Regions from separate parts of the Homo sapiens genome. Here region 2 is linked to region 1. The links are contacts of gene promoters, found by promoter capture Hi-C in human tissues and cell types (Jung and others, 2019). All regions are on one chromosome and are shown on one strand. Each heading gives the region's core, a stretch centred on a gene start or on the middle of the fragment in contact. The rest is flanking DNA. Distances are from core to core; before and after follow the strand shown. Region 1 holds the start of OAZ2 (ornithine decarboxylase antizyme 2). Region 2 overlaps USP3 (ubiquitin specific peptidase 3).

Region 1 (4,127 bases), core at 1,191-3,690:
TCCAGCTTAGGTGACAGAATGAGACTCGGTTTCAAACAAAAGAAAAAGAAATGTGGCTAGTGGGACTGAGGAATTGAACTTTTAACTTTATTTCATGTTAATTAATTTAGATTTGAAGACCTCAGTTTTTGTGAATTTTTCACTTGCTGACCAGGTGGCTATCAGGGTGGCCACTCCTTTAAACAGAAAGCTGTCCAGAGAGCTTCTGACTCTTCCACCATGCAGATCCAGAGAAAGCACAGGATCAGGCAACTTGGGATCCAAATTCTAACTATACCACTTAATCGCTTTGAATTAAAGCTAGCATGTTAACATGTCTGGTATAGACAGACCCTCAATAAATATTGGATGACAGAATAAATCTCTCTGAGGTTTAATTCTCTTCATCCTTAAAACGAGGGTGGAGAGCTGTTCTAAAATTTAGTACTTTACCCATGATGCTCAATAAATGGTCGCTATTATTGACATAGTGAGTTCTCAATATTTGTTGATTCATGGGTCAAAAACTGTCCTTCAGGTTAAAGGGTTACTTGGCCAGGAATGGGCTGGCAGAAGTGAGACATTCCAGCTCCCTCTGAGGGTCCAGGAGGATTGCCCAGGTCTCTGGGACTATGCGATGGGGTAGATCAGGGCTGGGTTTAAATGTCCAATTTTGCTAAGTACTAATGTAAGAACATACCTGACTTGAACCTGGAGGAGTAGGTAGGGATAGCTGAGGGACAAAGTGGAGGATCTTAAAGTGAACCAGAGTATGAGACCAGCCTTGCCTGAATATCTAGTGATAATCCGGGCAGTTTCGGTATCATTTACCACTTTAATTTGTGTTGAAAAAGCCTTAGCTTGGTAGCTCCAGCCTTCCTTCTGTGCCTCCATCCCCATCATCCAAAACCCAAAAGCATGCTGTTTGTGAAGGAGAGTAACCATATCCTGAGATGACTCCAATGTGAGATGTTTGTGAACTGAAAGTCATAGTGACCGCCGATCTGGAGTGTCACCCTTTCTCTGAGTTATCACTCTTTCTGCAAAGCTGTCCCTAATTCCCTAAATTACTTTCTCTGTGGCATTCCTCAGATTGAGCACTTACTTACCTGGTATTGTGATGACCTGTGTCTCTCCCCTTGACCGGATTGTGACATCCAAGGCAGGAACCTTGCCTGGTTGATTATGGCGTATTCTTGGACTCTAGCACATGCCTGGAGCATACAGTAAGTAGCTATTCAATAATTATTTGTTGGCCGGGTGCGGTGGCTCATGCCTGTAATCCCAGTACTTTTGGAGGCCGAGGCAGGTGGATCACCTGAAGTCAGGAGTTCAAGACCAGCTTGGGCAACATGGTGAAACCTCGTCTCTACTAAAAATACAAAAATTAGCCGGGCATGGTGGTACATGTCTGTAATCCCAGCTACTCAGGAGGCTGAGGCAGGAGAATCGCTTGAACCCGGGAGGTGGAGGTTGCAGTGAGCTGAGATTGTGCCACTGCACTCCAGCCTGGGCCACAGAGAGAGACTCCATCTCAAAAATAAGTAAATAAATAAAATAATTATTTGTTGAATAACTGAATGGATGTAATCTGAGGTGACAGAGTGACCCACTGTGATCTGAGATAATGTGACCTCTCTTGATTGCAATCTGGGTTGACTGTGAACAGAGTCGGGGCTTTTGATGATTGTGTTGAAGTGTCTGTGATTGTAACCTACAAGGACTGTGATCTGAGGGGTCTGCGCACCGGTGACTGTGGCCTTCAGGCACTAATCTGTCATAAGGACCAGTAGGGATAATGAATGGAGGTGACTGAACTAGTAACCTTGCATGATCGATTGAAGTAACTTGCACTGATTGTGATCTGAAGTGACCGTGAACAAGTTAGTGACGACGCTTTCCACGACTGTCTTGTTGTGACTGTGCTCATGATCTACAGAGTTCTGGCTTCAGATGACCTAAGCCAGTGCTTGGAGCAGCCTTGACGATTGACATGAGATGTGTGCGAGATGCTGAGATTGTTGATCTACCCTGACAGCTGAGGTTATTGATCTGCATTATGAGCTGAGATAACAGATCTGTGGGCCTGGACTCAGACTAGGAATGGTGCTAATATGTGTGTAGTTCTCTTAAGATTTCTGATTTTGTTTTAATATCCTCCCAAATGGCACAGCCCTGTTCGGCCCCACGCCAACAAGGAATAGGGATGAGGACCAGGTTGAGTCAATCCTCACAGAAAACTACCGGAAACACAACGCATCTTCTGGGCCGCGCTGCCGCAGCTGCGGGCAGACCCACCGCCTTGGTCATGGCCTCCTGCACAGCCTGCCCTTCGTTCGGACCCCCTAGCCCTACCCCCACGATCGGTCCGTGGTGCGCCTGCGCGGAGGCGGGGCGGTGCTTTGCCCTTTGTTGTGGGCCCCAGTTTCCCAGGACACCGCGCGGCGCTGGGGTGGGGCTATGCAGATGAGGCACTCGGGGGCGGGGCGGCGGCGGCGGCGGCGGCGGTGGCGGCCGGGGAGGGTCAGTTGGAGGCAGGCGCTCGCTGAGGCAAAAGGAGGCGCTCGGCCCGCGGCCTGACAGGGACTTAGCCCGCAGAGATCGACCCCGCGCGCGTGACCCCACACCCACCCACTCATCCATCTATCCACTCCCTGCGCCGCCTCCTCCCACCCTGAGCAGAGCCGCCGAGGATGATAAACACCCAGGACAGGTAACGGCCCGGCCCAGGCTCCCCGCCCCCATCCTCCCTCATCTGCTCCAGAGGGCCTCTCACGTACCCCTAGCCGGCCCCCGCCCCCCGCAGCGGGGCCATCCGCCCCCAGCCAGGTCCGTTCACCACTTCAGCCACCCTAGTCCGGTCCTCAGCCCTGCAACTGGGCCTTCTTCTGTCCTTTAGCCCCCTCTTCAGCCGGGCCCATCCCCCTCATCCGGGCCTTCTCCTCCCCTAAAGCCCCCAAAAGCCGGAACCCAACCTTCCAAGCAAGTCCCCTTTTTTCTTTCAGCCCCACCGAATTGTGCCCCATTCCCCAAACTGGGCTTTCCCCGGCATCCAGATTCCCCAAATTGTTTCCTGTCTTCCTCAAATCTTTCTTACTCCCCTTATAAGTCACTTCACCCTTCCCTTTGAATTCCCTCCCTGATGAAAACTGCACCCCCCACCCAGACTCTTCTCATATCACTGCCCCCCGCAAAGTCAACCTCCATCCTTCAGTTCTCAGTTTACCCCCACTCATCACCCTCCCCCCATTCTCTTCAGGCCTAGCAGTCCTTACACAGATGTCCAGCCTCTTCCTCCTGGTCCCATACTTCAGCTTCATCTTTCCCCCACCTTCCCCTCTCCACACCCCTCTCCCAGTTAGGCCCCATTTTCCCAGTCTCCCAGCGCCATTCCTTTTATTTATCAAACACCAGGTTTGATTCTTGTGCTCCATCCTGTTGCCCCAATGGTATACCCCCAACACTCTTGGAAACATTCTTACCCTCTAAACATCTTTTCTCAGCTGGAACTCATCCTTCTCCTTCCCCTCTTAACTGAATCCCGTCTTTGGATCATTAGATCACAGGACCCAGCCATCTCGCTTCCAGTGAACCTTCCCCCTGTACCTCCAGTGCCTTCAAACCAAGCTCTATATTCTGGACACTAGATCTTTGCAATTTCCTCCCTCAAAACCCGACCCTAGTCTTCCCCCATTAATTAGAGAAAGGCTGCACATCTTTCTCAGACCGAGCACCCTGGTTTTCCAAACTTGCATGGTATATCCTTCCCCCTGCAGATAGTTCCTCAATTTTCCTTTCTCTACATGCCTCTCTTTCTCCAAGACAACCCTTCTCACCTATCTCTCCCTCAAATTTTAATATATCCCATATTTCTGCCTCTGTTCTCTGAAACTGTTCCACAATTTCCTAATTCCCCGGAATTTTTAATCCTAGTTGCTCCTTATACATCAGAATGGCTTTCATTTACAATTTGGACCTAATTCTCTTCCTCATTTTTTCCCCAAACTTGTTGCTGTCCTGTCCAAACCGTGTCTGAAGCTCATTAGTTCCCCACACCAGACCTTTTGTCCCCAGATTTGGCCTTATGGCCTCTGCCTCTCACTTGGGCCTCATTATTTTGCAAGCAGATCCATTCCCTGTAAATCTTC
Region 2 (4,127 bases), core at 787-3,286, 1.2 Mb after region 1:
TGTGGAACTTAAAATATATTTTCATATCAAAAATCTTCAAAGGAATTATTTAAAGTATGTGTTCCAAACATTTTGTATTTTTTAAATTGTCAAGCATTAAGTTACTGAATAACAAAATAAAGACTCTTTTTTTTTTTTTTTTAAGAAAAAGCAAGCTAAAAGTCTGAACAGTGTTAGAGTTTAAGCTTTGGGCTATCTTTAATACTCCCCAAGCATCTTGGGCAACTCGTAACCTTTGTCTCAGTTTCATAATCAATAAAATAGGAAAAACTACAAGGATGAATAATTAATTAAATTAGTCAGGATTAAATGCTAGCAAACTGCTTTGAAGTTACTTTATGTTGTTCTCAGTTATCTTCCTACTCAGTAAAACTAATAGATGAGAAAACATCTGGAATTACTATAGATAATCACATCTGCAGACTCACAGCAGTTAAAAAGACGATCTCTACAAATTTCTAAGCCAAAGTTCATTCAACGACCCCAAAGATTTTAAGATACAACCACAATGAACAATTTTAGGTGAATTTCTTTTCAGTCTCAAGGACACCTATTCTTACCTACATTCTCAAAAGAAACCACTACACAGAAATCTCAGAGCATCTTGAGGGGTCTTGGCACAAGACAATTCTAGGTAAGATGAACAAGCTGTTACTGTTGTTAATGCTATTCTCAGCATTCTAAACTGTCAATCAAGGTAAGCTTAATCACAAACACACCCTCCAAAAAGTACTAGCCCCTACTGAGAACCCATCAAAGTACTTCCTTCCAAGCCATCTGTCCAGGAAAGCTCTATTAACACACCTAGAATGCAATTGCTCTCCTGTCTAAAGAGGCAATGAATAAACATAAAATATCAAAATATGTTAAACAGCATACCTTTTCCACTTCAAACAATGATAATCTACCGACTAAATCTATTTATTTCAATGCCTTGGTTGAACACAAACCTGTATGTATGTAGGTCAGAGACTGCAGCTTAATCAAAGGAGACTAACATTTTGTTTTCAAAGAAGGAAAAATATTAAAAACAAACAAACAAGCTCAAGAAGGGGAGAAAAGCTCAAAAAGAAAAAAAACGAGCAGGTTAGGTTAGGGGAAATGTACATGTTAATCAGCTCCTGATGGAAGAGGGACTCAAATTTTAAAACAGGAATTTAAATGACTCACTGAGCTACACACTAAATTACTCACTGGTCTACTCACTGAGCTGCAAACACTATAAAAACATAAGTATTTCTAAATCTAGCTTGAAGGATCCAAAATCAATCTTTTATATTCCAGTGGAGAAGGAAATTACATACATTTCAATGAGGAAAAAGGAGGCTGTTACACGAGCCTAAGGCTAATGGTGTACAAGCAAAGAATGAGAATAAATTATTTTGAGGATAAATAACAGGAAACCACACCAAAGAGTTCGAATTCTTCCCCCAACTCCATCATTTCTTCTGCTTAGACCATGAAGGATGTTCTGTATACACTATTAAGCATATTATTAGGGAAAGAACTTCTCATCAATGTGTCAAAACTTCTTCACAACAAGTAAATGTTAGGCTCAATCTCTATACTGAAGCTTCTTTAAACAAAACACATACATGGAGCACATTCTAAATTTCACACATTTCACATCCATGAGCAATCATTTAGAGACTCTAGAAATAAGCTGAGATTGCTCTAAGATTCTGGGGGACGGGGTTGGGGAGGAATACTGCAGAAAGACTAGAAAGACATTTGACTTAAGCTTTATAAATATTACCAAAAAAGTTTAAATTCTTCAGAAGGATATATAAAACTCAAATACTACTTTTTAGAATTAATGTGAAAAAAGTATCACCTGTCCACTGATTTTTAACTACCCCATCCACATTTACAACTAAATTGTCCACCTGCCCATCTATAAATACAGACTGCCAAAAGAACACAAATTCATTGTGATAACAACACTGCAGATGGTCATTTGCTCACAATCCAGCCAACGTTTACTGACTAAAATACTGGGAGTGCGGGCTAGTGAAAGCATTCTGGGGAAAGTTCACTCTGCGTTTATTTTCAACATAAAGACCCTGCCAGACACATCTAAGTGATAGTTCCTTTATTTATCAGGCAAATATTTACTAATTGCTCTATTAAGTATTAGGCACTTAATAAAGACATCATAGAATGTTACTAAAAAGCAGTAAAAGCATTTGACCTAATGACAAGGAAATGACTGATTGTATTTAGAAAATTTAGTCCACTGGGCAAACGAGTGTTAAATGTAGGTTGTGGAGAAATACGATACAAAATAACCCATCACTCCATCAAGGTTGATTTCTTCTCTTTATCACAACCTGATCAGTCCATTACAAATTTATTACCACTGACAACCAATAATCAACACCTCATCCTACTGAATGGATCTCTTAAAAAAGGGTTTATCTCCAGTATTTTGGGTGGAATTATCTGCAGTTTTTGGTGCAAAATTGCAGAACATTTACTTGATCTACACTTACTTTTCTTGGGTAGAGTAATATGAAGGCAAGTGTGTACTGAAAACTTAAAGAGGCACTCTCAACTCATTGAAGAATTAATCAGGGAAAAATTAGCATGCCTATCCTACTAAATATCTCTAATTTAACTGGCTGTTTAACCCAAACCCTCAAGTTCAAATGCTTGGTCCTTGGCTTTCCTTAGTTATCAAAACACTTGCATTCAGGGCATCTTTTTAAACAATTTTTGTTTTTTCCCACTGGTTAAACTCTTTTACCCACAAAAATAAGGAATGCCCAAGCCTCCAACTTCTGAAAATAACATCTGGTATGTGCACATAACAAAAAGCTTGAGAGAATGCCCTTTTATTTAAAACTTTTTCATTTTAAACTAGAATCCCTTAAGCAACAATTAGACATAAATCAGCCTTTACGTTATTAGGAGATAGCTATTTTCAACATTTACCTTAAACCACATGGATGTATCTTCTAACTAGTTAGCTTCCTGTCTCTCCCCCAGCTAGATTAGACTGTTAACTTTTTTGGCAGCAAAGGACTACTAGAGCCCATGCTCTATTTCCCAGCTAATACATTTCAAAAACCTCAGGTCTCTACAGAAACATAAACGTTGGTAGCCTTAAGGATTTCTCTAATTTTTTAAAGTTATTTTGATATGAGCAGGTATCCTTAACTGTTAACTATAGCTTACACAAGTGGGTTCTCAAAGTGTGGTCCTGGACCCCTGAAAGTTTCCAGGACCCATTCAGGGGATCCAGAAGGTCAAAACAATTTTCATACATAATATTTAAGATGTTACTTTTGTTTACAGTCATTCTCTCACAAGCATGCAGTGGGGTGTTCCTGAGGCTGCATGATGTGACATCTCAAGAGACTGAATGCAGAAGCAATGTAAGAATCCAGCTGTCTTCTATAAAGCTGAACAAAGAGTTACAAAAAGGCAAAATAATGCCATTCTTCCCACTAAATTTTTGTTTTGAAAAACATTTTACATAAACTGTCAATTTATGTTATGGGTGTGGGTCTATTATTATTTGTAAGCATATTAATAAATACATATTTTAAGTTTTTCTCAGTTTTAATTTCTAATAAACATCATCAACAGATATAAGCTACACGAAGGCTCTTCAGGTGCTCAACAATTTTTAAGAGTGTAAAGGGGTCCTAAGATCAAAAAGTGTAAGAACCACTGTCATACACAATTATATAACCCAACACACAGTGCCTTCCATGGATAAGAAGCTCATGCTAATTCTGAAGTATAATTACTTCTTACTTCTTGTAATCTTGTTGAGTTCTGTATCTCCCTGTAAAGCATCATTCAGCATAAAGCCAGTCTGTTCTAGTCCCCATTTAATGGGCTTTGGATATTTAATTATTCAGAGTCCTCTTTACAAAGATGTTCTGACCTCTAATACCACCTATTACTAGAACAGTGTATACAAGTTTCTCAAAGTTTTCACAAAAAATTACCTTGTTCATCCTAACAGCAACCTGTGAAGTAAATGCAAAGTATTACCCTTTTCTTTGCAGATTATATAAGGAAACTGATACTCAAAGAAAATAGAACTATTTGTCCAATTAGGTACTGCTAACTGGTAGAACCTAGAATGTTGTGGCATTTTGCAATTTGCTTGGCTG

The links. Contacts are between HindIII fragments. The study calls those that stand out against the background at their distance.
Region 2: a contact is called between a fragment that was not itself captured here and the fragment with the promoter of OAZ2 in region 1, in 1 of the 25 tissues and cell types used here (aorta).

What each region holds. Positions count from the first base shown.
Region 1 is chr15:64,701,594-64,705,720 of GRCh38, reverse strand. OAZ2 (ornithine decarboxylase antizyme 2) reads left to right here and starts at 2,440. Exons shown (of 5, transcript NM_002537.3): 1 at 2,440-2,692. The coding sequence starts at 2,673. LOC124903507 (a long non-coding RNA gene) reads right to left here and starts at 1,178. Exons shown (of 3, transcript XR_007064679.1): 1 at 1,089-1,178. RefSeq lists silencers at 2,305-2,624, 2,635-2,854. The HindIII fragment of the contact is 8,869 bases long and covers 1-4,127 here.
Region 2 is chr15:63,507,282-63,511,408 of GRCh38, reverse strand. All of the region lies in intron 1 of USP3 (ubiquitin specific peptidase 3), which reads right to left. Among named protein-coding and RNA genes, the nearest start is that of USP3, 4.8 kb to the right of the region's middle. The HindIII fragment of the contact is 3,184 bases long and covers 445-3,628 here.